Linked DNA regions of Homo sapiens: region 2 is linked to region 1. Evidence: promoter capture Hi-C in 16 types of primary human blood cells and fetal thymus (Javierre and others, 2016). All regions are on one chromosome and are shown on one strand. The core of a region is centred on a gene start or on the middle of the fragment in contact, and the rest is flanking DNA. Distances in the headings are between cores, read along the strand shown.

Region 1 (6,105 bases), core at 1,112-3,611:
GGGGGCAGCGGTCGACGGAACAAGTGTGGGGCGGCCCGGGCTTCCCGGAGGAAGCGTTGCTTGAGCTGCCAGGGGAGTTACCTGCAGAAAGGGAGGTGGGGTGCACCAGGCAGGGGGGCAGCCAGGGCAAACGCCTGATGCTCAGAGGGTGACAGTGGGCAGCGGGGCCCTTTGGAGGAGCGGAGGGAGGGCCCTGTTGGCTGCAGGGCAGAGTGCCCCACACTCCTCCTGGCCGCCACCCCCAGGGCCCAGCCCAGTCTGGGGACTAAGACGAGAGGCCTCTGGGGTGTTCCAGGTGAGCTGGAGTCAGCCCCTGTTGCTTTTGAATAATTACAGGGGAGTCAGCCCAGTGACCAAGCCTCTGCCTGGTGGGGGAGGGGCACGGGCTTTGTGTCCGGGAGCTGCTGTCCTCAGCCTCAGGAGAGGGGGTGTCACGGGCCGTGGGACAGGTCACAGTTAGGGTGGGGTCCCTGGAGAGGGGTCTGAGGACCGTCCCTGCGGAGTCCATCCAGCCACCATCGGTTGCCATGGCTACTGGCAGCCCCTAATCCTCACGGTGCTGGGTTTGACCTCTGCAGCGTCCCAGGCGGGCATGACCTCATTTGATCCTCCTGGGGTGGGTGGGACTGAGGCCAGGGGACTCCTGCCCAGAACTCAGGGTGGCCGATGTGGGGAGGGGCACTGTGGGGCCGACAGGTCCCCTCTCTGGCCATCAGGCCCCCAGGAGGGCCCAGGTGCTTGGAGGTGGGGGGTGTCCCAGCTTGATGTTGGGGATGTGAGTAGATCCAGCGCCCACCCACCCGCAGGGCTGAGCTCCCACTGGGCGCTGGGCCGTGACTCGCACACCGGACCCTGCACCCCTGGGGCACCCAGTGATTCCAGAACAGTGGGACCCCAGAGGCTTCTCAGGGAGCCCCAGAACATGACAGATGGGGGCCCAGGTGCGAGGCAGTGGGAGCTGGAGGAACACAGCCAGGGGCTGAGGCGAGAACCATGAGGATGGTGGGCAGAGGCTGAGGGGAGGGGCAGCAGATGGAGATGGGGGAGGCGTTAGGGGTCACAAAGGGGGTTCTCAGAGGATCTGCCTTGGGAAGCCACTGCTGTGGGAGGGTGGGAGGGATACAGCCCAGGTACCTCCAGAGAGGATGGAAAGGCTTATGGGGCGGATTCTGGGCAGGGGACCTGGGACCAGCCTGCAGCCTCCCCTGAGGGCCTGGCCATGGCCGCAGGCTGGGGAGGAGGGGAGGGGACCTTGGGGCCAGGTGCCATGGTCCTCTAAGCACTCTTGCTCGATGGTAAACATAACACGCGCTGCTTGCAGAACATGTGGAAACACTGAAACGCTTAAAGGAGAGAACATGGTCCCGGTACCCGGCCTTCAAGGGAGCTGCTGGCGCCTGTTCAACAGGAGCCGACCCCACCTGTGAACAGACGGCAGGCGGCTGCTCCCATGTCCCCTCAGAGAGGGGCCCTCCGAGTTCTGCTGTCACCTGGGGGCGCCTCACTTCATTCAGCCAGTGGCGGGGCTCCCTGGGTCGGCACAGAGTCAGGGGAGGGGGCTGGGGGACCTCCTGGTGGGAAAATGTCCGGTGATCCCCAGCCTCCGCGCTCAGCGGGAGGAGGCGCTCGGTCCCGCTTCTTACAACCAGCGGCGCTCACGGCGGGCCCGGGGATCAGCATCCCGGGAGCTTCTCAGGAATGCAGATTCCCAGGCCCTCACTGCCTGGGGAGTCGGGGGCCCAGCTCGAGGCCCAGGAATCTGCTTTGAGGACCCAGGTGACTCTGCTGCCTGCCTGAGAACCCCACCTTAGGTGAGGGACTAAGGTGTACCCATGGATTCATTTCAGGGGAAATAAAAAGAACAACTTAGCAGGTAGTCTATGCTTAAATATGTGTAGGATCCACAAATAAGGCATGGATAAAACCCGAGTGGAGTGTCCTGGAAATCCCACGACCACGGACCCCCCTCGCTGGGGCTGCCTGCCGCCCCCACCAGCCTCCACACACCCACTTATCTCCACAACCCCAGCCCACCCCTCAGAGACGTCTGCAGAGCCCCTGACCCTCTCCCCTTGAACAAGGACCCTCCACCCTCTTCAGACTCTCGACGAGGGACCCCCTGGACTCCTGCTGGCGGCAGGACCCCCACCCCAAGCTGGGGTCTACCACAGAGCGGACAGCAAGAAAATAGGGTGGGGGCGCAGGCGATCATGGGGTCACTGCCAGTGGGACCAGGGCTGTGGGCGAGTGCGCCAGGGTTCCCGGAGGCCAGACGTGGGACCCGGGAGTCGAGCAGGTGAAGCGGCCCTGCCCCGCCCCCACCAGGCACTGCCCCGCCCCCGCCCCGCCCCGCCCCCTCCCAGCCGGCGCCCGGGAGCCCGGAGCCAGTGCCGCGCGGACATCGGGGCTCCCCCGTTCAGAGGGCGCCGCCGCCCAGGTGAGTGCCGCCCGCCCCTGTCCCCCTCCCGCGCGGGCACCCCCTGCCCTCGGCTGTTATCCCCACTGGGGGTTTCACCCTGTGTGCGCAGCCCCGGCCCGGGGTCCCGCCGTGCGCCCCCAGCCCGCTGCACGCACTGTCCCCCACGCGCCCTCCGCACACCCGCGGGGCTCTCCTGCCGCCGCCGGGGGTCCCTCCCCTCCCGTTCCATCCACTCCCAGCAGCTCCATCCCTCCCATCTCCTGCCCCCACCCCACAACTCACCATCTGCAGGCACCCCGTGTGCCAGGGTCAGCCCAGAAGCCACAGGGGACCCAGATGGCCCCACTCTGCCCACCGCGCCGCTCCCGGCCTCTCCTCCCCACGACGGGGGCCACAGCGGGGCTGGCTCCTGGAGCTGGAGGAGGGTGGGTAAGGCTGGGGAGGGCTCGGAGCCTGGGGCTGGGGGCCGGAAGTGGCACTCAGGCCACAGGGAACCACTGGGCCACGGAAGGAGGGTCCCAGGGTGCCCGTGGCACCCAGCGAGGGGAGGATCCGCAATTTGGGTGCCGGGGGAGGCAACTGGTGCCTGCGCGCAGCTGGGTCGGTGAGCTCCTGGAAGGCAGCAGGCAGAGGCCAGCACCCAGGGGCCCTGTGACCTGGCACTCACAGATGGGTTCCCTGAAACCCAAGACTGGGGAGGCTGGGGTGCCACCCCGCCCGCTGCGAACAGAGCCCCCTCCTGTCCAAGGCACCGCGTGTACCTGGAATCCTCCTGGCGTCTTCACCCTCTCCAGAATAGAGAACACGCCACTGGGGTGTGTGCCCTTGGCCCTCCTCCCCCACCCCAGACCCACCCACGTGCCCGACCCGCTGTCCCCAGCCTGCCAGCCTGCCTGGGGCCCCCTCAAGGGCAAGAGAGCGGAGTGCATGGTGACAGAAGTTGGGGATGGTTCCAGTGAGGCTGAGCCCTTTCTGAAGGCAGTGATTCTGGACTATGTAGGTGGGGACTGCCAGAGCCTCCTGGGCAGAAACTGGTCAACAGCACCAAGGACAGGCGCCTGGCGTTGATTTCCAGAGCAAGACCCAGCGAGGCTGTCAGGAGGTGCCTGGTGTGGAGGGTGCCCCGAGAAGCGTTCGCGGAGCACGCGGGACCCCTGCTGCTGCTGCTCCAGGCTGGCCCACACCTGCCTCAGTTTCCCTCTCCTGGGGAGGGTATGTGCCCCTGGCCACAGGCTGCCGCAGGGACAGGTGGCGTGTATGTGGGGGACAGGCAGGGGTGCCATTGGCTGCACTCACAGAGCTGGACCCCAAGGGGGCAGTGGCCTGCCACCAGGCCACCCTTACGACAGAGGAAACAGGTCAGAACGCTTGTCCTGGGAGCACAGGCCTGGCTCCGGGGCCTTTGGAGGGGCTGGGGCCTGTAGTCTTAGCTAGGGTGTCCCCCGACGTTTGCCCCTGCCCAGCACACAATGGAGGAGCCCGGGTGGGTCTGCAGCCTCTCCAGGGTGCGGCGTGGGCCCCGGCCGTGTGAGCCGCTGCCTCCCCGAGCAGCAGGTTCCGCAGCCCCTCCAAGCTGCAGCCGCATCGCTGCCCCCCATGAAGGAGCCGACTCCCCGACCTCGTGCTGGGTTAGCCTGGAAGGAGTTGGCAGGGTGCAGGCTAGACCTCCACCCAGTCATGGAGGACTTGGTGCTGAGGCCCCGCCTCTGGTCCCAGGCCCCTGTGAAGACTGCCCCCTTCTCCGAGGAGCCCAGCGGCCTCCTGGATGCTGGGGAAATGCTGGGCTGCTTAGGGCAGCTTGTGGGAGCAATCGTTGAGCGCCCAGTGTATGCCAGCCCCGCTGTGGTCCCCGTCGTGGGGAGGTGAGGCCGGGAGCGGTGCTGTGGGCAGACTGGGGCCATCTGGGTCCCCTGTGGCTTCTGGGCTGACCCTGGCACACCGGGCACCTGCAGATGGTGAGTTGTGGGGTGGGGGCAGGAGATGGGAGGGATGGATGCTGCTGGGAGTGGATGCACGCAGCACCCTGCACACAGAAGCTCACTCAGTTTCATCAGCTCAGCAACCCTACAGTTTGCAGGAGTTGCCTATCCCAGAAGCTGGGCTCAGAGAAGCCCGTGACTTACCCCAGACCACGCAGCCCGTGTGGGGAGTGGTCAGGGGCCGGGGTCTCTCCCAGTGCCATGTCAGGCTGAGCAGATCCCTTCGTGGCCGAGGGCTCGGGATCAGAAAGCTCCTACTGCTGGCTCCCCCTCCAGTGAATCCCCCACCCACAAGGGACAGGGCCACCGGGACAATTCCCCGTGAGTGCGTAATTTTATGATTCAGAGGATACTGCTTCCAAATAACGGCTCTTGCAGAATTATGTTCCAAGAGTCAGGTACAGCAATAATGGTCTATTTGTGTCCTTTGCTGCTCTGAAGTCTAACTCCGGAGGTGGAGCACTGGGGGCCGCAGAGCCGGGGACCTGGCAGCCTGTGGAGCCCCTCGCTGGGCTCTGGGCATGGGAGTGGCCTTGGAGGAACCCTGAGGCTCCTCTGAAGCTAAGAAGCTACAAAGACAGGGAGGCTGAGGCAGGAGGATCACTTGAGCACAGGTCGAGGCTGCAGTGAGCTGTGATCACAGCACCACTTCGATCCAGCTCGGGCAACAGAGCAAGACCCCATCTCGAAAACAAAAAATCAAACAGGCATTTGGGAACCACACGTGCTGGGGACCCAGGGCCTGTGTTGGAGATGGACCGGAGCCCGACAGCCGCCCTCTCCCTGTCCCACCATCGGTGGCTCCTCTGTCCCCTCCACCTGGCCTCCTTGCTACGGAGGAATGGGCCGAAAGTGCCTCCCCAGGGAGGGTGCAGCTCAGAGGCCTCTGCACCTGGGCCGCCATCCCACCCACCTGGACTCCCACGCAGCCCGCGGGCTGTCTCCAGACCACTGTCCTTCCGGAATGCATGCTCCACAGGCAGCCAGAGGGAGCCGCAAACATGGCGTGTTGGATTTCCATGCTGGTCCCTGGGGAGCGGAGAGCCACAGGCCTCTTCCCCTCCCTCTCCCTCTCCCTCCCTCCCTCTCTCCCCCTACCCTGTCTCTCTCTCTCCCCCCCCACTCTCTCTCCCTCCCTCTCTCCCCCCACCCTGTCTTTCTCTCTCCCTCCCCACCTCCCCCTCTCTCTCCCTCCCCCTCCTCCCCCTCCCTCTCCCCCCACCTTTTCTCTCTCCCTCCCCACCTCCCCCTCCCTCTCCCTCCCCCCTCACCTCCCCTCCCTTTCCCTCCCTCTCTCCCTCTCTCCTCCCCTCCCCCTCCCTCTCCCTCCCTCTCTCCCTCTCTCCTCCCCGCCTCCCCATCCCTCTCCCTCTCCCTCCTCTCTCTCTCCCCCTACCCTGTTTTCTCTCTCCCTCCCCGCCTCCCCCTCCCTCTCCCCCATACCCTATCTTTCTCTCTCCCTCCCTGCCACCCCCTCCCTCTCCCTCTCCCTCTCCCTCTCCCTCTCCCTCCCTCTCTCCCCACACCCTGTCTTTCTTTCTCCCTCCCCACCTCCCCTCTTCTCCCACCCCGGGGTCTGCGTGGAGGCCACTGCTCCGTCCCTGCTGAGGATTCTGCTGCACTCTGGCTCCTGCCTGTGGGAATCCGTCCTGTCTCTCTGGCTGGTGTCTCTCTGGCTGGCGTCCCTGCCCAGATGCCGCAGCTTGA
Region 2 (6,085 bases), core at 1,269-3,768, 240 kb before region 1:
CCTGAGCCTGGGACGGCGGGGCCAGGAGGAGGCCCCTGAGCCTGGGAGTGTAGGGCAGGGGCTGCAGGGATCCCAGGAGGAGGCGCTCCCGGCCCCGCATGGCCCTGTGTCTGCAGTCCCTGCCTGGGCCTGTGGGCCTGCTGTGTGGTGGTCCTGGGGCAGGGCTCACAGAGCCTCACTCCCCAAAACCCCAGCCTGTGTCCCCGAAGGGCCCCCTCTCCTTAGAGGGGTTTAGTCCCACCAGGTGGGTAAAGTTGGCCTGCGTTGCTGGGCTGGTTTCAAGGGAGGGCTCTGCCCACCATCATCACGGGTCAGGAAAGCCCTGCCGAGCCCTCTGTCCTTCGACTTCTGGCCCAGCGAGGCACCTGGAGCACCCCGTGGCTGTGTTGAACGTCACAGAGGCTGCCGGGCACGTGGGGACGGGGCCCGCTGGGAACAGGTGTGGGGGCCCCAGCTCTGACCAGCGGGTGCCTGGGAGGGGGGTTCTCCTTGGACAAGAGCTGCCTCCAGCCCCTTGGTCCAGAACCCCTTGTGCCACCCCGGCACCCTCCGCCCTGTGAGTTTTTTCCCTCTGGGAGACGTTTACTTTCCTGGCAGTTGGCCAGCGTGGCACTCACAGAAAAGGCCAGGGCAGCCCCTCAGCCCCTTTCCTGAGGCCACACCGCCCTGAGAGCAGGGTGCGTGCCCTCAGCAGAAGCAAGGACCAGGGCCTCTCCTCCCGGCTGGGGCCCGGGATTCTGAGACCCATCTCTAAGGCCAGGGCAGGGCCGGGGCGGGGGACGTTTGTTAAATTTTTAGGAAAAAAAAGCAAAATCAACACAGAAACAAATGGATGAACCTGCCAATGGGTGGGGCCTGTGGACTCTGCCCCGGCCCTGCTCAGGGCCCTGTGGCCTCAGCTCCTTCCCTGGTGAGACACCCACCCTGCCCCATGCCACCAGTGGTATGACGCAGGGGAGGAGCAAGACGGGGAGGGGCTTGGGGGGAGGGGCGTGGGGGGGTGGAGTGTGAGGGGGGAGGGGGTATGAGGCAGGGGAGGAGCATGAGGGTGGGGAGGGGGTGGGGTGGTCAGGGTGTAGGGTGAAGGCGTGAGCCACAGTGCCCGGCCTCTCTCTTTTTTTTAGAGCTGGGTCTCACTCTGCTGTCCAGGCTGAAGTACAGGTAAGATCGTGGCTCGCTGTGCTCAAGTGATCCTCCTGGCCTAGCCTCCCAAAGTGCTGGGACAACAGGTGTGAGCCACTGCGCCCCCCTCCAGGTTTAGCTGTGGGATGTTTGGGCTTTGAAAGGAGCTGATCTGACGGAGCCAGGAGGGCTGGCTGCAGGACAGAGACAGGACGGCTGTCACAGCAGCCTCTGCCCCCAGCCGGTGCCCTGTCCTCGCCGTCTCTGTCCAGGAGGTCAGAGCAGTAGCACCCGCCCCGCCCCGTCCACCCTGTGGATCCTCAGCCCATCCGCCACCCCGCCCCGCCCCGCTCCGCCCCATCCACCCTGTGGCAGAGGCTTTTCATGGCAGCTCCGAGAACAGGAGGACAGTCACCTCCAGCATTTGCTCTGAGTCTGTTCCCTGGCGAGGTGAGGCCCCAGCTGTTTTAGCGCTCATAAAAATTTACGGCCATCACAAGGGAGCTCAGCTGGGTGGATCACGGTGTCGGGGCGGCGCCCCTGTGAGCTACCTTTTGTGAGCCGCTCCGGACACTTTGGCTCCGGGCTGGCATCTCCTGCCACCCTCATGAGAGCAGTGGCTGCAGCCCCCGCCTCTTGGGCTGGCCCTGTCATGGCAGCAAGGGCTCTGCGTGTGTACGGCCGCCCCCTGCAAGTGTGCTTGTTAACGGGGACTGTGAGGAACTGTGGGGGACTCAGGGCACGGGGAACCGGGGTCGGGCTGAACATTACTCCCTACTCTGAAAGGACAGCGTTGGGACAATGTGGCCAGGCTGCGTGAGGCTGAGTGGGGCAGCATGGCCAGGAGGGGCGAGGGGAGGGGGTGCGAGGCAGGAGGCTGGAAGTAGGGAGAAGGGGTGTTCCACTCACCATCACCCATCCCACCAATCTCGCTCACAAATCCCTGTAGTCTGCAGTGGCTGCCTCTTTATTCCTGGAACAGTGGCTTGGGTTGGGGTCTGCGTCTTGGATGGGGGAGAGCAGGGGGCTCATGCCCGGGAGCCCATGGACAAAGGCACCTGCTCCATGGTAGAGAAGGTTCTGCCCCAGCAAGGGGGCCGTCGAGCGGACAGCCCAGGGCAGCCACATGGGGAGGCTGGGTTGGGGACAGCAGCCCCGGCGCCTCTCCCGGAGAAGCAGCCTCCCCAAGCTGTGCCTGAGCCGAGGGCACCGTCCAGGTCATCTCAGCCAGAGCCTTGGCCGGGTCTAGGGGAGGGGTCACGCCAACGTGATGACCTCCTGGCAGCTGTGTGACTTGAAGGTTTTCAAGCAAAGGCTGAATAGCCCGGAGAACATCCACACACCCAGGCCCAGGGTCAGCCATTTCGGCAACTTGCCCATATGTGTTTTACACGTTACGCACATGCCTTTGTGTTTTCTGCCCACCGTTTTGAAGAAAGCAGCAGACACTGTGACTGTAAATACTTCAGCGTCTCCCGACGTGGGGACACTCCCATTAGAGAACAAATCCAGTGAATTAGTGAACAGGTGCATGCATTCAAACACGAATCTGTGCTGGCCGTGGTGGCTCACGCCTGTAATCCTAGCACTTTGGGAGTCTGAGGTGGGTGGATCACTTGAGGTCAGGAGTTGGAGGCCAGCCTGGCCAACATGGCAAAACCCCGTCTTACTAAAAATACAAAAATTAGCTGGGTGTGGTGGCGCAGGTCTGTAATCCCACCTACTCGGGAGGCTGAGGCAAGAGAATCGCTTGAACCTGCAAGGTGGAGGTTGCAGTGAGCTGAGGTCATGCCATTGCACTCCAGCCTGGGCAACAAGAGTGAAACTTTGTCTCAAAAAAAAAATTAATTTAACAAGAGAAGTGCAAGACTTGTACACTGGAACTACACTGGAAAGAAAGAAAGGTCTAAATAAATGCAAAGACATCCATGTTCATGGATAGGAAATCTTAATATAGCTAAGATGAGAATACTTCCCAAATTGATCTACAGATTCAACACAATCCGTATCAGAATCCCAGCTGATTTTTGTGTGTGCAGAAATGGACAAGGTGACTGTAACGTTCATATCAAATTGCAAGAGATGGCAGAGAGCCAAAATCATCTTGAAAAGGAACAAAGTTGGAGAATTCAAATTTCCCACTGAGGGATAGTGGCTCGCGGGGCCTGTGTACCAGCCTGGTTGTCTTGGCAGAAGTTTGGCATTTTGATACGCCTGATGCTTTCCTGTGCCGTCTGCCTCATTCCTCACTCCTTGAGTTTCCTGTGGGCTGGGGTTGAGGGGGTTCAGCCCAGTCTCCACCCAGCACCCTCAGCCAGCTCGTCTGTGCCGTCTGCCTCATTCCTCACTCCTTGAGTTTCCCGTGGGCTGGGAGTTCAGCCCACAGTCTCCACCCAGCACCCTCAGCCGGCTCCTCTGTTGGGTGCTGTGTCTGCGTCTCTGCATTGTTCCACCGACACCACAGCTGCACTTGTCCCTGTGATGGGCCCAGGCTGGGCTCCTCTTGCCCTGTGGTCTCCGATTCCTATTACCTGTCACCAAACAGTTCGCCCCCTTGGTGGTCCTTGCCTGAGTCACCATGGGTAGCAAAATGGTTTCTTCTAGAACTTTTGTGGCCGTATTATTACAGACTTGTCTTTAGTAGGGGCAAAATCCCATCCTCACGTCCCTCACCAAATTAAATGGCTGTCCAGACTCCATGTGGACTGTGACCCTGGGCCTGTGGGACCAGACTGGCCTGGGGAATGGGCATGACTCGTGTTGTGGAGGGAGGTGGGGAGTGGAAGAGAGGATGCCCTTCCATGTGTGGCCCGCCCTGCCCTGCCCTCCCCACACAAACTCCCTGGTTTCTGCCTGTGCCAAGCCATGAGCCTCCAGGAGGGCCTGGACTGGGGGAAACCAGTCTGGGGGCTGCAGCCCCCTCAGGCCCAGCTTCAGAGGACCCCACAAAGTGATGGGCCTGAAGGGGAGGGGGAGGGCATCTGCCTGCTCTGCAGACCCCAGGCCAGGCCAGGGGCTGGGCCAGACACAGGGGCTGCTTCTGGGCATGACCCCCCCCCCCGACCCCCCGCCCAAGTGAGGTGGCTGTGTGACCTTCGTGCTGGGCGTTTGTCTGGGACACAGAGCTGTGGCCTCCCCCACTGTGCAGCGATGGCCGACCTGTCTCTTGAGACCGTCTGTCCCCTTCTGAGCCCCTGGGAATAGTGGGGTGAGTTACCAGCCACACAGCTGCATGGCTGGACACTTCTCCCCACACCTCAGCCTGAGGCCCTGTGCTGGAGCACCGAGGATCATCTGGGCGGGAGCTGCCTGCGGCCTGTGGGTGCCTAGCTGTGCATCTCTGGGACCTGGAGGGAAGGATAGCTCAGAAGGGGCTTTTCAGGGGTGACCATGTAAGGCAAATTAAGGAAAGAGGGTGAACAGGGAACACTCGAAGATGAGAGATGCCTTTTCTCTTTGAGCATGTGTGAGAACATGCTAGGGTGGTCTGGAAGGTCTGTAATGGGGGTGGTGCTGGGTATTGCCCTATTGGGGGTGCAGCCTCCGCTTCACAGGGCTCTGCACCAACAGGCCCAGGTCCTCGTGGGGCCTTTGCTTGGGCAGCTATGGGCACAGTAGCCACATGTAGGGGGGCCTCCCCAAATGGAGCCTGCAGGGTTTGCAGTGGTGAGTCCTCAACCGCTAACATAAAATGCACATATTTTAGGTTATAACTGGATGAGTTTTAACAAATGTGACACCAGTAACCCACAGCTCGGTCAAGACAGAACACTCCTTGGTCAAGACAGAACAACACCCTGAACATTCCTCATGCCTCTCCCCAGGTAACCCCCCCCACAGAGGGAACCGTTGTCCTCATGTGTGTTTCAGGATAGGTTAGTTTCTCCAATTCTGAAACTTGGTGTAAACTTTCACTCCGTCAGTGCCTTTGGCGGCATCCATGTTGCTTTCTTTTTTCTTGCCTTATTACTCTGGCTAGCAAGTCTAGTGTGATATGGAATAGAAACAGTGGGAGTGGCTGTCCTTGTCCTGTGCTTGATCTTACAGTGAAGCTTTCGGTTTTTCCCCATTAAATAGTATGAGGGCTATGGATTCTGTAGATGCCTTTTATTAGGCTGAAGAAGTTTCCTTCTCTTCTTAATTTGCTGAGTTTCTATTATGAATAGTGTTGAATTTTGTCTAATGTTTTTTCCTGTATCTATCAGAGATACAATCATATGGTTTTTCTTAGTGTTTTAATTGGTTGATTTGCTTTTTGTTTTTGTTTTTTCTTTTTTTGATGGAGTTTCACAATCGTTGCCCAGGCTGGAGTACAGTGGCATGATCTTCGCTTACTGCAGCCTCCACCTCCTGTGTTCAAGTGATTCTCCTGCCTCAGCCTCCTGAGTAGCTGGGATTACAGGTGCTTGCCACCATGACCGGCTCATTTTTTGTATTTTTAGTAGAGATGGGGTTTCACCATGTTGGCCAGGCTGGTCACAAACTCCTCACCTCAAGTGATCCACCTGCCTTGGCCTCCCAAAGTGCTGGGATTACAGATGTGAGCCACCGTGCCTGGCTGATTGGTTTTCAGATTGAACCAACCTTGCATTCCTCATCATGGAATATAATCCACAGTCCAGTTGAGCATGGTGTCTAATTCTTTTTACATATTTCTGATATTACCAATTTGCTAATATCTTGCTGAGGTTTTGTTTTCTGTCTATATTCATGAGGTATATTGGTCTGCGGTTTGGCTTTGTTTTCTTTCTTTCTTTTTTTTTTTGAGACAAGAGTCTTGCTCTGTCGCCCAGGCCAGAGTGCAGTGGTGAGATCTCAGCTCACTGCAATGTCCATCTCCTGGGTTCAAGCAATTCTCCTGCCTCAGCCTCCCGGGTAGCTGGGAATATAGGCGTCTGCCAACATGCCTGGCTAATTTTTTCTATTTTTAGTAGAGACGGGGTTTCACCATGTTAGCCAGGGT

The links. Contacts are between HindIII fragments. The CHiCAGO score rates a contact against its expected background, and 5 or more counts as called.
Region 2: a contact is called between a fragment that was not itself captured here and the fragment with the promoter of SSTR5 in region 1, in 4 of 17 cell types (M0 macrophages, M1 macrophages, endothelial precursors and 1 more). The highest score is 9.6, in M0 macrophages.

The regions. Positions count from the first base shown.
Region 1 is chr16:1,070,386-1,076,490 of GRCh38, forward strand. It overlaps SSTR5 (somatostatin receptor 5), which reads left to right and starts at 2,362. Exons shown (of 2, transcript NM_001172560.3): 1 at 2,362-2,437. All of the region lies in intron 2 of SSTR5-AS1 (SSTR5 antisense RNA 1), which reads right to left. RefSeq lists enhancers at 1-153, 1,122-1,863. The HindIII fragment of the contact is 34,423 bases long and covers 1-6,105 here.
Region 2 is chr16:831,332-837,416 of GRCh38, forward strand. No RefSeq gene overlaps it. Among named protein-coding and RNA genes, the nearest start is that of GNG13, 34 kb to the left of the region's middle. The HindIII fragment of the contact is 5,308 bases long and covers 1-5,172 here.